3 separate regions of the Homo sapiens genome follow, and regions 2 and 3 are each linked to region 1. The links are contacts of gene promoters, found by promoter capture Hi-C in human tissues and cell types (Jung and others, 2019). All regions are on one chromosome and are shown on one strand. Each heading gives the region's core, a stretch centred on a gene start or on the middle of the fragment in contact. The rest is flanking DNA. Distances are from core to core; before and after follow the strand shown.

Region 1 (4,095 bases), core at 1,086-3,585:
ATAACACCAGTGATGGCAGTGGGAGCATCACCATGGGTCGCATAAGAGCCGTCGGGGCAGATGTGGCGTGAGCCATCAGCACCACGGCTGAGTGAGGCACGCACAAAGTCCAGTGCCTGCTCCAGCGCATGTGTGTCCTTGGAGCAACTGTCGAGGATGTGTGCACCCAGGCGCACGCCAGGCAGCAGGTGCGGGTCACGGTTGATGCGGTCCAGTGCAAAAAGCATGGCCTCCAGGCGCTGGATGCCACGGTGCTCATTGACAGGACCACAGTCCTCTGCTGGGCCGCCCTTCTGGTGCACTGGGAACAGCCCACCCAGCACCAAGTCTCCCTCCAGGGTCAGCACCTTCTTGGCTGGGCCCTCAGCCACAGCACCCCACAGCAGCAGCAGTGCCAGGAGCGCAAGCAGCGATCCCATGGCCCCAAAGGGGATGGATGGGTCCCGCAGACCTGGGTCTCCAGGGGATGAGATTAGAAGCAGCGAAGGCAAAGAGAGGAGGAAACAGGGACCAGGAAAGGACAGACAAGAAGAGAGATGCGAAGGGACCCAGCTCCTGCAGAGAGATAGAAAGACAGAAAAACAGACCAGGAAAAGTGGAACCTGAGAGCAGCTGCCCCTTCTGACTCTGCCTCCCCACGAGCCCCTTTCCTAGGTACTCAAAAGCCAGGGAGGGACAGGATGGTGTCATTAAGTAGGTTGAGAAGCTCCTGGGACTCCCCTGGACCTGTCTCTCAGCCCTGGCCTCAGCTTGGTGAGAGATGGGCCATATTCCCCTACCAAACTCAGCAGTGGGGAGAGATGCAAGCAGTGAAGTCCCAGGCAGAGGACAGGAGACCCCAGCCAATGCTGACCCCTCTGTAATTCAAAGGGTGTCCAAGAACAGCACAAACCTCCCAGGACCCCGAGGTCAATACCTTTGGAACAGACTATGTCACAGTCACAAACTCAGAGGTCCCCATCCTGAGCCTTGGATTTCCAGAGAGAAGGAACTGCTGTCTCAGGACCCACCAGGGAAGAGGAAGGGAAGCATCTCTAAGGGACAGTCTCCAACCCGTGGGGAGACTGGAGCCCATGTGAACACCCAAGGGTTCTAACCTTTGGTTCTTAAAAAGCCATCCCCACAGTTTGCTGACTGAGGAAGGAATAGAGACACTAAGCCCTGGGAATGAGACAGCAAGGTGGAATGGCTGGCCTCAGGGAGGGTACCCAAGTGGCTCAAGGTCCTAAGTCAACAGGGCAAGCAGATGTTCACGTATGTGTGTGTCAGGGTTGGGGGCTAGAGTCTCCAAACAGTGCTGAGGGTGAGAGTGCGGGACTCTCTAGCTCTGTGTAGAACACTGCTTGAGATTTTGTGCCTCTGTTTTCTCTTCACTCCCGACCCAGCAGAGAAAGTCACCATTTCCAATCTCCCCATCCTCAGCTTCAGGGCCCTGCCCACCCTAGCCATGGCCCTCAGAGACCCCCTCCCTGTCTCTTCCCCACTGCGTCCAATCATTTGTACCCCAGTTGCCTTCCCAAACACACACCCCACAAAGGCTCTCACAATCACACAGGCTTGGAAAGGCTGGGAGAGGGACATACCTCTTTCCTCAGAACAGGAAAGGAAACTGAGTTTGAAGAAGGGCAGCAACTAACTCAAGGACCCCATGTGCTGGCCACGGAGGCTGAGCCTCTTCATTTTGCCCCCTCAGCTCCCCAGGGCAGGGGCACTGGGCTCCTCTGGGGATCAGGAAAGCAGCAGCTTACCCAGGCAAGCGAGGGAGAAGCAGGGAGGAAGACCAGCACAGATGGAGACAGGGACCCAGATGGGGGCTGAAGCCAAAACTGGTCAAGTCGCAAGTCTCCCAGAGGGGAGGCCCAGACGGAAGCTCAGAGGCAGGAAGGGGACAGAAACCCGGAGTCAGACAGCCAGGAGCCTGGGCCACAAAATCTGGGCAGGGAGCGAGCAAGCCTGAGAGGTTGAGACAAAGACGGAGGCACAGACAGAAAGAAGGACCAGAGGACGCTGGAGCAGGAGGAACGGGGGAGTGCGATGTGGGGCGTGCGTTTTCTGGAGAAGAAAGGCGGGACGCCCGGGGCTGTCTTCCCGCTTCCCGGAGCTCTCAGGGAACGCTGTCTGGACACAGCAGCGCGGGCGCCCCACAACTTGAGGGCCCGCAGGACCCTGGGACGTGAGGTAAGGGCCAAAAAGGTCGGCAGCGGCAGCGGCACCACCACCACCGGCTCACCCTACCTGGCGCGCTGGCTCTGGCGCGGAGAGAATCGGAGTGGAGCGGGGGGCGCGAGGCTCCGGCTCCCGCTCGCTCGCTCGCTGGCTCGCTGGCTCTGCGCTCTCCGCCCGCCCGCTCGCCCCGCCGCTTTCAATCGCGGCCCGCCCCGCCCCGCCCCCGGCCCCGGCCCGCCCCCAGCCCCTCCTCCGTTCCTCCAGACGCCAGGTCTCCTGCTCCCAACCCAGCCTCCGCCTCCTCTGGACACTCCGCGCTCCAGCTTTTCTGGGGACCTCAGGGCCTGGAGCTGTCCGCCTCGTGGTGCTGAATCCCCGAGCGCTCTCGCTCTGCGCTGGAGCGGGTGCTTCGTGGCCCACTCCGCCCCATAGTCAGACTACCACCTAGAGAGCATAGGTGGGGGGCGGGGGGATGCCACGGGGCACGGGGTGGGGAAGGTCACTGCGCCCCGACAGGTGCCCATAGTGCTACTGCAGAGTGGAGGAGCTGGCCTTAGTGCAAGGGGTGCCTCTGGGGGATAGGTAAAGGGGCGCGTGGGAGACGGGTGGAGTCTATTCTCCCCACTCAGCGATTTCAGCTGGGTCCACATCCCAGGCCTGAGTTGGAGGCATGTGTCCTCTGCCACTTTTGAGACCTGGAGCCAGAGTCACTATGAGGAAAAGATTGGGGGAAGGGAGAGGTCAGAGGAGAATGGGGCCTCCCCTTCCTTCCTGCAGATGCCCTTTAAACCTGCCACCCACTCCCATGTAAAAAGGGTATTTAAGCAAGGAGAGAGCAACCTGCAGGAAGGGCTGCAGAACCAAGTACTAGGGTCAACCCTGAGGGAGTGTTAGGGATGGCAGGGGCATCTGGGAGGGGAGGGGCCTAGGGAAAGGCTTCTGGAACTGGCTGCTGCGTAGGAGGGAGTGAGAGCTGGAGCCCAAGCAGAGGGAGGACAGCTCTGAGAAGATTCTCTTGACTCTTCCCTCCCACAGCAGGATGGGGAAGGACGCCCCTGGGTAGAGGGTAGTGGATAAGCTGTAGTGCCAGACTGTGCTGAAGGAATGGGGATTAGAGAGCCTGTGCTATCTGCCCCTAACATGTGCACACACTAACAAGTGCCAAGGGGCATGGCATCCCTACACACATTCCCGACACTGCCCTTTCTTCCACAGGTGTCAGTGGAAGCAAGGCCAGCTCAGATACATGCTAATGAACATGCCAAGCCCAGACCCCTCAGGCACACACACCCACATGTGCGTGTGGCAGTCCGTAGGGGTGCGGGGGTGATCACCAAGGACGAGCTTTTTCCCTGGACACAGAAACCTGATGTCCTGCTGCTGTGGAAAGAATACAGCTTTGAAACGAAACAGACACATAAAACCCAAACAAACACAAGCCCCATCACTAACAGGAGACAAGGTGGCAGTGGGAGACAGACATGCTGTCTTCCACCTCCAACTCTGCCACCGGCTGCTCTCACCCTCTCTGGCTGCCTCAGAGCAACAGCTCCCTGGGGTAGGTGAGCAATGGGCCAGGCCTCTGGAGCAGAGGGGTTGACAGCAGGAGGGTGCTGAGGTGAGGAGTCACACACTCCTTCTAGCCACACTCCCAACCTGCTCAACAAGTCAGCCTCACAAAAGGCACAGGGCTGTAAACACAGATATGGCTGTGTACAGCATCAGCCAGAAAAGCCCATGATGTGGCCTGCAGCAAACAAGCTGCACAGTCGCAGCACATGGACACACAGTTACACACAGCTAGGCAGCCACCACTCCCAGCTGTGTGCACACGGATGAGGACATACACTTAGCCTTACACAGTTGTAAATGTGGACATGGCCACATGCATAGTACACATAAACATGCAACCACACACAGCTATACTTG
Region 2 (4,095 bases), core at 919-3,418, 300 kb after region 1:
CCAGGCTGGTCTGGAACTCCTGACCTCAGGTGATCCACCCGCCTCAGCCTCCCAAAGTGCTGGGATTACAGGCATGAGCCACCACGCCCAGCCAGCTTTGTCTCCTCTTTAAGGGCACAGAGGTGCTCTGGATGAGAAGCAGTGGCATCACAGGACCGGGGAAAGTACACTTCCCTCAGTTTGCATTGCCACAGCTCTCTTGCCCTCATCCTTCCCTACTTTTTGATAAATCATGCTCAATGGTTAGGGCTAATGTAATAGCTTTCTCTTAGCGTCCTTTCAAAACAGCTTGTACTTACATTTAAAATAATTCTTTAAAAGCAAGAATTTTTGAAAATGGTAATATTTGAAAATGGTAATTTTGTAAGGATGTAAGTCTAATACTAGGGCAAAGGACCCATGTTTTTCTCTAATGGGACTTAGTACTGACTAAGCAAGAGTGTTTTGTTGAGATTTAGCTATGTGTTTTACTGTTGGCCATTACAGGATATGAGCATATCATTTGTTCTGTAAATCAAATCCTTTGAATACTGCATCACCTGTACATCAAAGATGACACAGTATACCTGGATCAGATACACCTGGGTAAAAAAGCTAGAACAGAGACTCAACCTAAAATCCCCTGTGTGTGCTCTCTTGGTCTTCACTGTTTTGACTGTCTAAGCATGCATTTTATTAGAGGCCCGAGATGATTCGTGATCTGCAGAAATGGGCTTCTGAGCAGAGTGAGGAGACTCTTGTGTGGTGGGCAGCTGGTGGCCATGGTGGGATCAGAGCAGAGCCTTCCTCAGGGCCTGGTAAAGGATAATTAGGCTGTAGAGTTTGAAACAACTTCACCAAATGCTGCCAAGGATCTGCTAGTGTAGAAAGGCTTTCCTTTACTGCTTTCCAGCTATATGGGCTCTATAGGGGCCTTGGTTTCATGGGTGAGAGGAGCCAGCAGTGTCTAAAGCTCATGTGAGTTATGAGATATGGGTAGAAGGGAGAGGTTTTCCAGTGGATACTTGAAATCTTTGATTTATTTGTGACATGGATTTTAGTGTTTTCTTGAGTGCTGTGCTGTTACAGCTTGTACATGTTTCTAGTCTTTCTGGGTAGCAGAGCTTGGTATTAGGTCCTCCAAATTTCATGTGGTTGCCTTGAGTGGGTTTCTTAATACTGCCTGTTCTTTTATTCTCACTTCAGTTTGCTACCTTAGACACCTCACTCCCTTAATGCCTACTTTTTCACATTAGCTATCATGAAACAAGATGTAGTTTATTCTTGAGTCCATACAGAGGGTGCAGTTGTCAGGCCATTTGCGCGTACATTACAATGGTATGGGTGGCTGTCGACTGCTTTGTCCTCCGTGGGTTTATTCATCACTACCAAGTATCAGTTCTGAATCAGGCTTCTTGGATGTTACATGTTGAAGCATAAATCTGAGGCCAAAACTGGATTGTTTGTCAACATCATTATCCCAGCCCTCCCATATCCGTGCATTTAATAAGGCAGTGGGCGGCAGTCTTCTCTGGGAACCATCACCTGGGTCCATGTGATGCCTGGTGTCTGTCTTTGAGGGGGAGGTCAACTCAGAGGAAAGTTGAGATTGCCCTAGACACCTTGGGAGTTGGAAGGCTATTCTCTGGGTTCGCCTTATTCTTGCAGACATGGAGTGGTGAGAGGCAAAGGCACTGGAGGTTGGTGGCTGGCTGTGGAAGCGAGAGGCCACCATAAGGGAATAATTTAAGAGTTATACTCCTCTTATCCCACTCTCTCCAGGAAGGCTTGGGTCAGGGAAAAGACTGACTAATTCTTCTTCTTTTGTCCTGCTTAACTTCTGAGAAGTTAAGGGAGAAAGAGATTAGGAAGGGCATATGGTAGTGGTCAGGACTTTTGACTTGGATGCAGGAAGGAAAGCAAGAGGCTGCCTCAGCGTGACAGCCAAGAGTGAGAGGGGCAGGGTCAAGAGGGCTCTAAGGAGTGGCTCTGGAGCCCAGCCTGTAGAAGAGCCGGAAAGCTTTCTAGCTCAGAGAAGACTAGGTGGCAGGGTAGGTGTGCAACATGGCTAAGTTATTACTGTGGCTTCCAGATTTCTTAGGATCTAGGCATGTTTCACTCCATACTGATATTACAGCTTTTATTGATCATCTGGTGCATTTCATGTTTGAAGGACCTCTGTTAGAGAACTGCTTATCCCCTCAAGCCCTTGGCATTTTGATTTTTGATTTAGAGATGTTTGATTTAGAGATACGGGATAATACCGTATCTATTTGAGTAGGTCTCTTTTGTAACCTTAATTCTGTTGATCCATGCTCCTTCTAGAATCTTGTGGTGGAGTTTGGCTGTTTTTACTATCTCCATCAGATTTCTGCCTACTGCCTCTCATGCACAGTGTGCCAGCTTGAATTTTTTTTAAACTCACTTTCCTTTGTAGGAAAACCAGTCTCTAGTTTTACTTTGCTTTGTACGCTTCACCTGATTTTAAAACTAGAGACTTTTCATTTTCCTATGAATCATTTGCTATTCAAAGTTTTGTCCTAGTCTAGATATCTGTTCTCAGGTCTTCTCAGATGTTCCAGATATGACTTATGTGGCTCAGGGATACAGGCACCTGTGACCAACACCTTTGAATTTGCCTTTTCATTATAGCAAAATAAATTCAGAAGCCTGAATGGTCAGCCGTCATCTAATAAAATGGTCCAGCATAAAGAGCTTTATCGAGATATAATTGACATGCCATAAAATATTTGTCCTTTGTCCTTATGCTTAAATAAGCTTGGAGATTAAGAGGAAAGGATGAAAGGTACAGCTAGCTGTATCTAGATGAATGAAAACCTAAACAATGTATTGGACACCCATAAATATTTGGTTCCTGAGGCTGCTAGTCTGCCTGCCTTCAGGCATTTGATGAAAGCAGAGATAAGCTAGTCACCTATCACAGCTCATTATTATCCATTAGAAGTTTGGTATCTGGTTGTTTTTTTTTTTTTTTTTTTTTTTTTGAGATGGAGTCTCGCCCTGTCACCCAGGCTGGAGCGCAGTGTTGCGATCTTGGCTCACTGCAACCTCCACCTCCCAGGTTCAGGCAAATCTGCCTCAGCCTCCCTGAGTAGCTGGGATTGTAGGCGCCTGCCACCACAACCGGCCAATTCTGTATTTTTAGTAGAGATGGGGTTTCACCATGTTAGCCAGGCTGATCTCGAACTCCTGACCTCAGGTGATCCGCCCACCTCGGCCTCCCAAAGTGCTGGGATTATAGGCATGAGCCACCGCGCCCAACCTGGTGCCTGTGTTTTTAGAAATCAGTTCATTCATCTTTGATTTGACTTTTAGAAAAGTTACAAAACCCAAGATAAGTAATTGATCATTGCTCCTAGATTTTGACAAGCCAATACATTTTAGCTAATTATACTTAACCTTAAATTTATAATAAAAAACTCAACAAAGGAATAATGCTCTCTGTTTTCCACTCCATTTTGGAGTCTGGGACACACTGTGTGCTGTGCTTCCTGTGTGTTCTCCACTGCCTAGAAGCGGATGTTAAGAGTCTTTACTGATTACACACACCTGGTCAGAGCTGAATGTGTTGATTCCTGAAAGGCCTCATTTTCTTAAAGAATTGAAATGTAACTTGAGTTAGATTCTGCCATTGAGGAAAGAAAAACAAACATTTATGACCCTAAAGTGAACCTATAGCCTTTAAGGACAGAAAAAGTATTTTTTAAAAAGTAGGCATTTATACATTTAGCAAAATATGACATGTTACATAAAGGTCAGGATCAGATTTGAATGACGGTTTTGTTGTTGTTTTTTTTTTTTTTTTTTTTTGAGATGGAGTCTCACTCTGTCTCGCCCAGGCTTCCGCCTCCTAGGTTCAAGCAATTCTTCTGTCTCAGCCTCCCAAGTAGCTGGGACTAAAGGCATGTGCCACCACACCCGACTAATTTTGTATTTTAGTAGAGACGAGGTTTCACCCTGTTGCCCAGGCTGGTCTCGAACTCCTGACCTCAGGTGATCCACCCGCCTTGGCCTCCCAAAGTGCTGGGATTACAGGTGTGAGCCACTGCGCCCAGCCAAAGTGTAGGTAAAAGGCATCTGAAGCCTATGTAGATG
Region 3 (4,095 bases), core at 942-3,441, 260 kb after region 1:
ATTCCTGACCTCAGATGATTCGCCCACCTCAGCCTCCCAAAGTGCTGGGATTACAGGCATGAGCCACTGCACCCAGCCGATAACAGATGATTTAACGGGGCTTTTTGAAAATTTCCATGTTGTCCTTGTAGGAAAATCATCTCTGGTTCTTTATAGTTTCATCATTGTAGATCTAGAAAGAAGTGAGTGCCCTTTGGTGGTTAGAAACACTATTTAAGGGAAATTATGAATAATAAAGCTTTCTGCAAGAACAATTTTATCGTTTCCTAATTAATGGTTTATTGGGAGAAGTGACTTATTCCATTGTGCATTAGATTGGAAATTGTCTTGAATCCAGTGTTTAGAGAACAGATTGCAAGCCTTTTTCATATTGTGTTACTTGATTACATGATGATCTGTACTCTTCAGAAGTATCCTATGCAGCTTTTTTTAATAAATCAATATTTCTTAAAATATTTTAATTATAGCAATTAATGAGTCAGAAATCATTATTTCTCAACAAATTAGCTATTGGTGTTCCTCAGAAGTTATAATTAAGACTTATTCAGCCTGGATAACCTAAGGAGACCTCATTTACAAAGAGATGGAGTCTCTTTGTGGGTGTAGTGGTGCACACTGTGGTCTCAGCTGCTTGGGAGTCTGAGGTGGGAAGATTGCTTGGGCCCAGGAGGTGGACGCTGCAGTGAACTGTGATTGTGCCACTGCTTTCCAGCCTGGGAGACAGAGCGAGACCCTGTCTCAAAAAAGAAAAGAAAAAGACTTATTGCTCTAGGATGGTGTTTTTCAAATTTTGTGAAACATAGTAACATGTACTTTTTTTTAAACCTTGAAACCCAGTCCATACATTATATGTATGAAAAAGAAGTTTTAAAAACACTGTTTACTCTTTGTGCAATTCATTCTGATACTTTTTTACTTATTTCTTTTTTAAAATGCTGGTTCAGTGTACTAAGTTGGTTTTATTCCGCCACTGTTTTTAAAAAGTTGTTGACTTTTACTTTCAGAGATATTGAAAAAAAGCTTTACAATCTTTTTTTTTTTTTTTGAGACAGAGTTTTGCTCTTGTTGCCCAGGCTGGAGTGCAACGGCATGATCTCAGCTCACTGCAACCTCTGCCTCCCAGGTTCAAGGGAGTCTCCTGCCTCGGCCTCCCGTGTAGCTGAGATTACATGCACCTGCCACCATGCCCAGCTAATTTTTTGTATTTTTGGTAGAGATGGGGTTTCACCATGTTAGCCAGGCTGGTCTCAAACTGTTAACCTCAGGTGATCCACCCGTCTTGGCCTCCCATAGTGCTGGGATTACACCTGACCTAAAATCTATTTATTTTTATTTTTTAAATATATACGAAAAAATAGACACAGAGTCTCATTATGTTGCCCAGGCTGGTCTTGAACTCCTGAGCTCAAATGATCCTCCCTGGCTTGGTTTCCCAAGGTGCTGGCATTACAGGCATGAGCCACTGTGTCTGGCCTAAAATTTATTTTTATTTAAAATTATTTGGCTGCAGGCTGGGCAACATGGTGAGACCCCATCTGTAAATATATATATATATGCTGAGTGTGGTGTCACATGGCTGTAGTCCTGGCTAGTTGGGAGGTTGAGGCAGGAGGATTGCTTCAGCGCAGGAGTTCGAGGTTGCAGTGAGTTATGATTATGTCACTGCATTCCGGCCTGGGTGACAGAGTGAGACCTTGTCACTAAAAAAAAAAAAAAAAAAAAAAAAAAAAAAAAAAAAGAATTTCCTTTTTATATTGTTCATTGCTAGTGTATAGAAGTGCAACTGATTTTTGTATGTTGATTTTGTATCCTATAACTTTGCTGAATGTGTTACTTCACTGACAGGTTTTTTTGTGTATGGAGTCTTTAGGGTTTTACACATATAAGATCACGTCATTTGCCAACAGAGGTAATCTTACTTCTTACTCTCTAATCTGGATTCCTTTAATTTCCTTTTTTATGTCTAATTACTCTCACTAGAACTTCCAGTACTATGTTTAATAGAAGTGGCAAAAGTGGACACCTTGACCAGGCGTGGTGGCTCACGCCTGTAACCTCAGTACTTTGGGAGGCCGAGGTGGGAAGATCGCTTGTGCTGAGGAGTTCAAGACCATCCTGGAAAACATAGTGAGACCTTGTCTCTCAAAAAATAAGTGGATATCTTTTTCTTGATCTTAAGGGAAAGCCTTTCAGTCTTTCACTGTTGAGTATGATATTAGCTATGAGTTTTCATAAATGGCCTTTATTATGCTGATGTTTCCTTCTAGAATCTAGTTTATTGTTTTTTCATTACAGGGTATTGACTTGTCAACATTTTTTTGGTATCAGTTGCAGTGGTTATGTGGTATGTTGAACTGTCTTTGAATTCCTGAGATTTAGTTTATTTAGTCATGATGTATAATCCTCTTATGCTGCTGAATTCATTTTCCTAGTATTTTGTTGAGGATTTTTATAACTATAGTCATGAGTGATATATTGGTCTATAGTTTTGTTTTCTCACAGTGTCTTTAGCTTTGGTAATGCTGGCATCATAAAATGAGTTAGGAAGTGTTACCTCCCAGTCAATTTTTGGGAAGAGTTATGAGAAGGATTGGTGTTAATTCTTCTTTATTTTATTTAATTATTTAAAGAGATGGGTCTGGTTTTGTTGCTTAAGTTTGTCTCGAACTCCTAGCCTTAAGTGATCCTCCTGCCTCAGCCTCTCAAATTGTTGGGCTTACAGGCATAAGCCGCCATACCCGGCTTTAATTCTTCTTTAAATGTTTCGTAGAATTTACTAGTGAAGTCATCATGTCCTGGGTTTTTCTGTTTTGGGAAGTTTTTGATTATTGATTCAATTTCCTTACTACTTATAGGTCTATTTAGTTTTTCTGTTTCTTTATGAGTCAGTTTTGGTAGATTTGTCCATTTTATCTTGGTTATCCAATTTGTTGTTGTACAATTGTATATGGTATTCTCTTATAAATCTTTTTATTTCTATAAAGTTGGTAGTAATGAGGCCTGTTTCATTTCTGTTGCTAGTAATGTGAGTCCTCTCTTTTATTCTTGACCTGTCTTGCCAAAAGTTTGTCAATTTTGTTGATCTTGGTGAAGAACTTTTAGTTTCATTGACTTTCTGTATTTTTCTATTCTCTATTTCATTTTTCCCCACTATAATCTTTATTATTTCTTTTGCTAGCTTTGAGTATTGTTTTTTTCTAGTGGCATATGGCATAAGGCATAGTTAGGCCTAGTTCCTAATTTGATTTGAGATCTTTCTTCTTTTTTAATTGCATGTGTTTGCAGCTATAAATATCATTCTGGCCGGGCACAGTGGCTCACGCCTGTAATCCCAGTGCTTTGGGAGGCCGAGATGAGTGGATCACCTGAGGTCAGGAGTTTGAGAGCAGCCTGGGCAACATGGTGAAACCCCATCTCTACTAAAAATACAAAATTAGCCAGGCGTGATGGCGTGTGCCTGTAGTCCCAGCTACTTGGGAGGTTGAGGCAGGAGAATCACTGGAACTCAGGAGGCAGAGGTGGCAGTGAGCCAAGATTGTGCCATTGCACTCCAGCCTGGGCAACAAGACCAAAACTGCATCTCAAAAAAAAGAGAAATAAATAAATAAATTTCATTTTAACCACTGCCTTTGCTGCATTCCATAGGTTTTGGTATGGTTGTGTTTTCATTTGTCCAAAGTGACTTTCTAATTTCCCTCGTGATTTCTTTGACTCATTAGTTATTTAAGAGTGATGTTTAATTTTCATGTATTTGTGACTATTGTAGTTTTGCGATATTGTTGATTTCTAGTTTCATTCCATTTTGACTAGAAAAGATTGTGAGATTTCAATCTTTTTAAATTTATTAAGACTTGTGGCCTAACATATGGTTTACTCTGGGAAAAAAAAAACATAAAAGAACATGGAAAAAGTTCTATGTGTACTTGAGAAGACTGTGTAATCTACTGTTGTTGGGTGGAGTTTTCTGTGTACATCTTTTAGGTTCAATGGCTTATAGTGTTGTTCAAGTTCTCTGTTTCCTTATTGATCTTCTGTCTGGTTGTCTTAATCGTAATTGAAAGTGAGGGGTACAGAGTTTTTGTTTGCATAATGAAG

What was found. Contacts are between HindIII fragments. The study calls those that stand out against the background at their distance.
Region 2: a contact is called between a fragment that was not itself captured here and the fragment with the promoter of GRM2 in region 1, in 1 of the 25 tissues and cell types used here (thymus).
Region 3: a contact is called between a fragment that was not itself captured here and the fragment with the promoter of GRM2 in region 1, in 1 of the 25 tissues and cell types used here (dorsolateral prefrontal cortex).

What each region holds. Positions count from the first base shown.
Region 1 is chr3:51,705,308-51,709,402 of GRCh38, reverse strand. It overlaps GRM2 (glutamate metabotropic receptor 2), which reads right to left and starts at 2,335. Exons shown (of 6, transcript NM_000839.5): 1 at 2,236-2,335; 2 at 1-555. The coding sequence starts at 419. The HindIII fragment of the contact is 8,284 bases long and covers 1-4,095 here.
Region 2 is chr3:51,406,874-51,410,968 of GRCh38, reverse strand. All of the region lies in intron 23 of DCAF1 (DDB1 and CUL4 associated factor 1), which reads left to right. Among named protein-coding and RNA genes, the nearest start is that of RBM15B, 18 kb to the right of the region's middle. The HindIII fragment of the contact is 3,503 bases long and covers 417-3,919 here.
Region 3 is chr3:51,448,713-51,452,807 of GRCh38, reverse strand. The region is part of intron 6 of DCAF1 (DDB1 and CUL4 associated factor 1); the gene reads left to right. Among named protein-coding and RNA genes, the nearest start is that of DCAF1, 49 kb to the left of the region's middle. The HindIII fragment of the contact is 3,124 bases long and covers 630-3,753 here.